Linked DNA regions of Homo sapiens: all the other regions are linked to region 1. Evidence: promoter capture Hi-C in human tissues and cell types (Jung and others, 2019). All regions are on one chromosome and are shown on one strand. Each heading gives the region's core, a stretch centred on a gene start or on the middle of the fragment in contact. The rest is flanking DNA. Distances are from core to core; before and after follow the strand shown.

The links. The method cuts DNA at HindIII sites, captures the fragments that hold promoters and counts their contacts. A contact is called where the count stands out against the background at its distance.
Region 2: a contact is called between a fragment that was not itself captured here and the fragment with the promoter of AP1S3 in region 1, in 1 of the 25 tissues and cell types used here (IMR-90 fibroblasts).
Region 3: a contact is called between a fragment that was not itself captured here and the fragment with the promoter of AP1S3 in region 1, in 1 of the 25 tissues and cell types used here (dorsolateral prefrontal cortex).

What each region holds. Positions count from the first base shown.
Region 1 is chr2:223,836,314-223,839,013 of GRCh38, forward strand. It overlaps AP1S3 (adaptor related protein complex 1 subunit sigma 3), which reads right to left and starts at 1,269. Exons shown (of 5, transcript NM_001039569.2): 1 at 1,135-1,269. The coding sequence starts at 1,137. RefSeq lists enhancers at 676-765, 1,636-1,815 and silencers at 876-1,305, 1,336-1,465. The HindIII fragment of the contact is 8,969 bases long and covers 1-2,700 here.
Region 2 is chr2:222,980,537-222,983,236 of GRCh38, forward strand. No RefSeq gene overlaps it. Among named protein-coding and RNA genes, the nearest start is that of ACSL3-AS1, 62 kb to the left of the region's middle. The HindIII fragment of the contact is 3,166 bases long and covers 1-2,700 here.
Region 3 is chr2:222,925,953-222,928,652 of GRCh38, forward strand. ACSL3 (acyl-CoA synthetase long chain family member 3) reads left to right here. Exons shown (of 17, transcript NM_004457.5): 12 at 1,065-1,237. Among named protein-coding and RNA genes, the nearest start is that of ACSL3-AS1, 7.7 kb to the left of the region's middle. The HindIII fragment of the contact is 6,092 bases long and covers 1-2,700 here.

The sequences.
Region 1 (2,700 bases), core at 19-2,518:
CTGAGCTATCGCTTCCACCCAAGTGCAGGTCACCAGATCTCTCATCAGCAGGGCTGCGGCCGGCCTCAGCTTCCAACCTGACCCCCTATCCCCTGCCCTTACACACCCCAGTCCATTCTCCAACCACAGCCAAACTGCACACCATGCCGGGTGCAGTGGCTCACCCCTGTAATCCCTACACTTTGGGAGGCCGAGGCAGGCGGATCACCTGAGGTCAGGAGTTCGAGACCAGCCTGGCCAACATGGTGAAACCCCGTCTCTACTAAAAATACAAAAATTAGCTGGGTGTGGTGGCACACGCCTGTAATCCCCGTTACTCGGGAGGCTGAGGCAGGAGAATCGCTTGAACCCGGGAGGCAGAGCCGAGACCACACCACTGCACTTCAGCCTGGGCGACAGAGCGAGATCAGTCTCAAAAAAACAAAAGTGCACAACGGGTAAGGTCAGTTTTCTTGCTAAAACGTCCCCGAGGTTTCCCCTACTCAGTTGGAACCAAAACCAAACTCCTTATTTTGGCCTATAAAAACCCGCCTCACCTGGCAGAAGCCCACCTCTCCTGCCACAAACAAGGCCTTCTCCCCTCCGCTTTGCTCTCTCTAATCCACCTGTAGCGCCCCTCCAGGACCTCCAGCAGCTAGAATGTCATGTCCTTGAAGAGGCTTTGCCAAATCAAAAGTTGCCACTCCACCCGGTTGTATTTGAGACTTTACAGCGCTTCTTACTTTAGAAGTTCTCTTCATTTTACTTGTATATTGGACGTGTCCCTCCCTCCGCATCCCCCTCCTGGAAGGTAAGCTTCCTGGAGAACAGGGGCTCCTCCTGGTCCCCCGCGACATCCCCAGCGCCCAGCACCGAGCCCGGCACAGACTAAGCACTCGGCTAAGGCGGATCGAATGAATGAATGGAGCCGCGGCGCCGCGGCGCCGCGTTGCCGCAGGAATCCCGGGCAAGCGATCCTGGCGCGTCCGCACCGTCTGGGGCAGCGGGGCCACAGGGACGCACGGTTCGGGTGGCCAGGCGGGACTCGGCCCGCACCCCCACCCGGCCGCGCGCCCGGCCCGGACGCCCCAGGTGCCTCCCCGGAGCGCGAGCGCCCCCACCGCCTACCCGGGCCGGCGGTTCCCCCGCACTCACCATCGTGGCTGGGCCGCCGCCTCCCCCGCCTTGCGAGCAAGGAGCGCTGGAGAAGCGAGGGCGAGAGGCGAGCGCTGGAGCCGGTGCGGCTGACAGGTGAGGCGCCCGGCTTAGACCATGGCTGCTTCCCACAATGCCCTGGCACTGAAAGTGTGCAGACTCCTCCCAGCGCGGCTGCCTCCTCCCTGCACGCTCCTCCCCGCTGCCTCCTCCCCGCGCCCTCCTCCCCGCTCCCCCCGCTCCTCGCCCTCCTGCTCTCCTTCTTTCTTCCTTTCCCCTTTCTCCTCCCTTCTCCTCCTCCTCCTCCTCTTCCCTCCTTTCTGCCTCTCCTCTGTACCCCCTCCCCGCCCCCGCCTCGGCTGCAGCTGTTCCCGCCCCGAGCCGGCCGCACCTGGAGCGAATGCACCTGCGCGCGCGGGCGTCTGTACCCCGACAGCCCGCAGCTCGGCGCGGGTGGTCAGGCGAGAGCGCGTGGCCCGCTAGGAACTCCCTGCGCGGGGAACTCCCTGCGCGGAGAACACCGGGGACTTTTCGCGATTCTGCCGCGCGAGTGTGTCCTGTATTCCTTCCGCAAACGTTTATCAAACCTGGCAAAGATACTTCCGATACACTCGCAGAAAGTGCCGGGGGCTGCCTTATCCTAAGCCTCCTAGGGAGGGAGCAGTTGGAAGAGAAAGAACTAGAAGCGTTTTCTTATCCCCTTCTGCCCCCATTTCACTTTTTAAAAAGTAAGCTCTGCAGTCTAAGGGCAAAGATCATTTTAAGCAGGCCCCCATTTATTTATTTATTTATTTATTTATTTATTTATTTATTTATTTATTTAGAGACGGAGTGTCGCTCTGTCGCCCCGTCTGGAGTGCAGTGGGGCGATCTCGGCTCCCTGCAACCTCCGCCTCCTGCGTTCAGGGTGATCCACCCGCCTCGGCCTCCCAAAGTGCTGGGATTACAGGCATGAGCCACTGCGCCCGGCAGCACGACCCCCTTTTAAGAAGTCTCTCCTAAGAAGTTGTGGTGTAGAAAGTTCGTTCTCCAATCTCTCCTCCCCTTGACTTTTCTTAAATCTAGGGCGTTGAGAGTCTCTAAACCCCCAAGCTGTAAACAGAGTTTTTTCTTTTTTCTTTTAATTATATTTACCAGATAGACTAGATGTAAGCAGAGTTTTTAATGCATATTCATGTTTTTGAGAAAGGGAGTCCACTGGTTTTATCAAATAGCTAAAGAGATCCTAGACCCTGCAAAAGTTAAGAATCATTTCCTGGGCCAGGCGTGATGGTTCATGCCTGTAATCCCAACACTTTGGGAGGCCCAGGTGGGCGGATCGCTTGAGACCAGAAGTTCGAGACAAGCCTGGCCAACATGGTGAAACGCCGTCTCTACTAAAAATACAAAATTTAGCTGGGCGTGGTGGCACACGCCTGTAGTCCCAGCTACTAGGGAGGCTGAGGCAGGAGAGAATCGCTTGAACCCGGGAGACAAAGGTTGCAGTGAGCTGAGATCATCCAGCCTAGGTAACAGAGTGAGACTCAGTCTGAAAAAAAAAATGTCATTTCCTGGGTGGTCCCTGGA
Region 2 (2,700 bases), core at 84-2,583, 860 kb before region 1:
TTTTATAGGCCTTAAATTGAAAACAAGATGATATCATTTTGTCATAGTGCACAAGTTAGTAATAAAATAGTGTGATTGTTTTTCAGTGATTTGATTTGAGAAGTTTGTAGTTATTTGTGCCCAGACAGGTTAACCAGTAACTGCTTAGCCAGCTTGTCTGCATTCAGTTCACTCTTTAGAAGGAGCAGCCTTTGACTAACCTCTCCCCATTTCCCCCATCCCCAGCCTCTGGCGGCCACTCTTCCACTCTATTTCTATGAGTTTGACTTTTTTAGATTCCACATAGAAGCAAGATCATACCGTCTTTGTCTTTCCCTGTCTGAGTTATTTCACTTGGCATCATGTCTTCCAGGTTCATCCAAGTTGTCGCAAATGGCAAGATTTGCTTCTTTTTGGCTAAATAATATACAATTATATATATATACACACACACAAACACACATATACATGTATTTCACAATTTATGTATTCATGTCAATGGACACTTATGGTGGTTATACCTTGGTTATTGTGAACAGTGCTCCAATGAATAACGGAGTGCAGCTATCTCTTTGAGCTATTGATTTCATTCCTTCTCAACACCACACACACACACACACACACACACACACACACACACACACACACACACACACACTGGTAAGTAGGTGAGGTGATGGATGTATGAACAAAATTGATTGTGGTCATCATTTTTTCACAATATATACATATATCAAATCCTAATATTGTACATCTTAAACTGATAGAGTTTTGTCAGTTAGTTATACCTCAATAAAGCTGGAAAAAATAAATAAAAGGAACATCCTGCTGGCTGTCTCTGTGGGACAGCCTGGCCCAGCAGAGCCACTCTCCAGACACTGCACATGCATGTGTCCCTGTAAGAAGCCGCTGCTGTTCCTTCCTGAACAGTGAAGCTGGTCCCTGTGAGATGTTGCCATCCTTGGGGGAATACCTCAAGTGGCTTCTGCAATGTTCAAAGGCTTCTGCGACAACCTCAAACCGACCTCTAGCCCTCCAAAGATTGTGCTGGACTCTGCCTGGAAGGGTGAGGGAGGTGCCCATTTTTTCTCTTGCCCAAAGACCCTCCCCTTCTTCCATGTGTGCCTGAAGCTGTCTTGAGGCACCAGAGAGCCCCTGTCTGTTTTTCACTCATTTCTGCTAAGCCTGTGTTCACAGATTGAGGTAAACCCCGCTGGAGAAATAGAATCTGCTTTCAGCTTCATCTGCAGAACTAGGTCACTTTAGTCTTTTGCTAACCAGATTACCAATAAAAATTGCCTGGAAAAAGATGGAGAATGAAAACAAACAAAATGAAACAACATTAAGACAAAAGATAAATCTGTGATAATTTCTTGAGTATAGCATGTTTCTATTTCTGCTTCTGTGGTTCAGATATTAAAGACTTAAAGTAAATCTCTTTGTTGTAAGATTAAAGAGAATTTCCCATATTAAATAAAATTAAAAGCTTGGATTAAAGGAAGCAACACTATCAGCTAGTTTCTTCCATTGGTTGCATCATCGACATCTTTGAACCCCAGGATTTAAGATGGAGCAACTTCCAAAAACTCTTGTCCTTTCAAGCCATTTCTGCGGTGACACTGAGGCTACTGGGGAATCTGTTTGGCCAGTGGAGGGCACTTCAGCCTCTTGCTCTGGGTGTAATCACTTTGCTTTTCACACATGACCTGGCAGAGCTGATGCAACTCTAGTGCCTCACACAAACATTTCCATTTGCAACCTACTGGATTGTGTCATTCATCTCTTTTTGCTCTTGCATTTCCTTCTAATATTGAAGGTAGACTTGCTGGCTTGGAAACCTGACATCTGTGCTTTGAAGTCTAGGAGGATGAAAAAGTCTTGAAGCCAGGACAAGATGGCCCGCAAAGGGATCAGGTTTTATTCTGACCAAAATAAAGACTTTTTAAAGACTTTTGAAGCCTTGTTTATGCTATCAGGGCTCCAATTTAAAAGATGTCACTGTCAGTAGATGTCTTCTGATTTTGAGAAGCACATGTGATGAGTTCTGGGTCACTCACCTTCCCACGGTGTCCTCGGTGTTCCTAGCCTCATTGTTGCTCTCAGCCAGCCTCAACCAAAACCACTTCCTCTGGAAGCCTGTCCCTTCCCCCACTCCCATTTGCGAGTCTTCCCAGATGCCCTTTTCTAGTGCTTCAACCACGGTCCCCCACCTGCCTCTCCCTCTACCTGCTCCCTTAACAGCTCCACCTTGCCCCTCCTCTTAAGGGTGAGGAGTAGCTACAGGTAGAGAAATACTTAACGTCATGCTTTTATTTTTGGACTCCCCAGTAGACCTGAGTGCTTTATTCAAGGAGGACATCAGCATTGATTTTCCCTCTCAGCAAAGTGCTTTAAAGGTGAAAGTGCCTTTTCACAGAGCTGGGGCCACCTTGCATCATAGCCTTGGAGCCATTTCTGTGTGGCAGAGAGAAGGCTACCCACTCCTTCCCCACTTCCCGTCTCCATTGACAGCCTTCTCTTTGAAGCTGATGTGTGCCTCTGACTTTCTGCAACCCTGAACTTTCAGCATTGTGTTTTTCGGCTAGCCATTCTACAGCTTGATCATCTGAATGCAGATATGCATAGAGGTTCTGCTCGTGACCATGTGACCCACCTTTGTATCCTGCAAGAACAATGGGATTGGTGTGGAGGATGAGAGCTGGAGCTCTGGAGTCAATATGC
Region 3 (2,700 bases), core at 68-2,567, 910 kb before region 1:
ATATAGTTTTCAGATGCTTCACATAATTTAGAACTTTGTAAGTTTTTTTCCTGCCTTACGTTAGTTATTTCTTCAGTGAGTTGTAAAGTCGGCCCTCTGTATCAACAGGTTCCACATCTTTAGATTCAACCAACCGTGGATCAAAAGTATTCTGGGGAAAAAACAATAAAATATAACAGTGGAAAAGAAAATACAGTATAACAACTATTTACAATGAATTTATATTGTATTAGGTATTATAAGTAATCTAGAGATAATTTAAAGTATTTTGGAGGATGTGTGTAGGCTTTATGCAAATACTATGCCGTTTTATATAAGGGACTTAGGCATCTGAGGGTTTTGGTATCCAGAGGACTGGATGCCAAGGGATAACTGTAAAAGCTGATTTGAAAAGTCTGTTAATACCATTTTTAAAAAATTGTCACCGTGTAGTCTTCACCTTTTGCAAAGATTTTTTTTTTTAAGTACTACCTCTCCTTTTTGATCAAGGCAGTATGCAATCTTTGTATTAGTGTATTTTCAGAAACATCAATTAGATGTTTAACTTGTTTCCTTTTTTAAATGCTTCACAGATAATTTACTAGATTATTTTTAACAAACAATTCAAAGCTTGAATTAGTGAAACTTCAAAAACAGATTGTGGTATACAAATTATACACATTTCTAATAAAGTACATTAAAGCAAAAATTAATTTGATTTTAATACATTTCATAAAGATGATAGAATTGTTCAGTATTAATATATGATAAATATTTTATGTAAATAATGATATAAAAGTGGCCATAAGCAAGGGTTTTCCTGTCACTATACAAAACTAAACCTGACAATTCAAATTCGAATATCACTTGAAAAGCTCTTAAGAGGAAATAATAAATTCTTTACCTTGTTGAACTTCAAAAAATTAACATTTGGGGCTCAAGAGACTCTCCAAATTGGCTGTGTGACCTTGGATAAGTAACTTAATCTCAAAATCTCTCATATCAAAACTGGGGGATTAGTTTAAGTGATTTGGAAAATCCCATTCAGTTTTAAAATCCTGTGGTTCTCTAATTTTTTTCTTTAGCTTTGTTTTCCGGAAAGTTCGAAGCTTGCTAGGGGGAAATATTCGTCTCCTGTTGTGTGGTGGCGCTCCACTTTCTGCAACCACGCAGCGATTCATGAACATCTGTTTCTGCTGTCCTGTTGGTCAGGGATACGGGCTCACTGAATCTGCTGGGGCTGGAACAATTTCCGAAGGTAGTGTTCTCCATGGTCAGAGGCTGGAGTGTGATGCCAGACGTTTTTTTGGGGTATGGGATATTTTCTGCAAATATATAGGAGAAGAGTAGTAAGGTGTTTGTGAGGCAGAATAATGGTGGATTCCAAGTACTATGATCATTGATATCAATTTTTAGAATGTATTAGATGCATCTGGAGTCAATAATTTATCTGGAGAAGTTTTTATATCAAACTGATAGGTAATATTAAAAACCACTTAGCATTTTGGAAGAGAAACTTTAGTAACAAACACTGACTGTTTTGTGTACATTTATTTTCTCACATCAGTGATTAAATTTCTTTTTATGTAGAAAACTTAAGGTGCTTTTGTTTATTTGTGTAGGTGAGTATATTAAGGCTCAGGTTCAGAAATGTTTATGAGGATTTCTGTAAGTGTTAGAGAAGGAACTAAGTTCTGGTCTAGGGAATATTATTACCAGAGTTTATCATGTGGTTGTGTTTGAGGAGGAGATCTACCAACTAATCAGCAGTTCTGAGATGAATCGCATAGGGCCTCATGCGTCCCTTTTATGGGAGAAAGTTATTTTGCTTTCCGGTACAGGATACAGCTGTGCTTCTCCTACTTTGTATTTGCCATATACGGATAGATACAAAACCTCATGACTGATTTTTCCCTATTTATTTTGAGTGGCTCTGTATACCATTTTCATGTATTACTTCATTTTTCTGTTTTTCAGTTATGTTCTCTGTTTTCGTATATTTTTGGAAGCTAGTTCTAAGTCATGTTTTGTAGGAAATAAGCAATCTTAAATACATGCATAGGGGATTTCTTTCTTCTGAGGATCCTTAATTTCTTCTATTTTTAAGATTCAAATTGAATGATTAATCAGTAACAGTTTATGTTTTAAATAAAAGTCTTTAAAATGTTAAATATCAGCCTTTCATTTCTGATATTTGGTCTTTGAAGAGGAAACATAATGCAATAGTAATTCATAATAGTGGAGGGTTCTTTCCTCACATCCTTGAAAGCCACCAGTCTTATTCTTCAGCCTGGCTCTTGAGCTATTGCTGTATTAATTTTAAATAGGGTGTGATAGCATAAGCTGATGGAAGCCTGCAGAGATCTCACTTTGAAATGGTGATACATTACATGGGAAAAGATTAGAGAGGTGTTTTATACTGCACATCGGTGAGGCCTAATAAGAAAGTAGAATAGACGTAAACCATTGTTTTCATCATCCTTTAAGACAGGGATTTCAAACTCAAGAACCAGGCAGCTACCTATTTAAATGAGTCAAGTGGGCCCTAATGTAAGACAATGTGATGGGTAAGGATTGATTCTGAGGGAACAGGAGCAGGCATGCCCTCTCTAACAGAGGCCGTCAGTTCTGCTGTACCTGAAATGTGGGCCCATTGTTGCTGGCGATTCCACACTTACATCTAAAATTTCCTGATTTTTTAAGAATGACAATAACTAATTT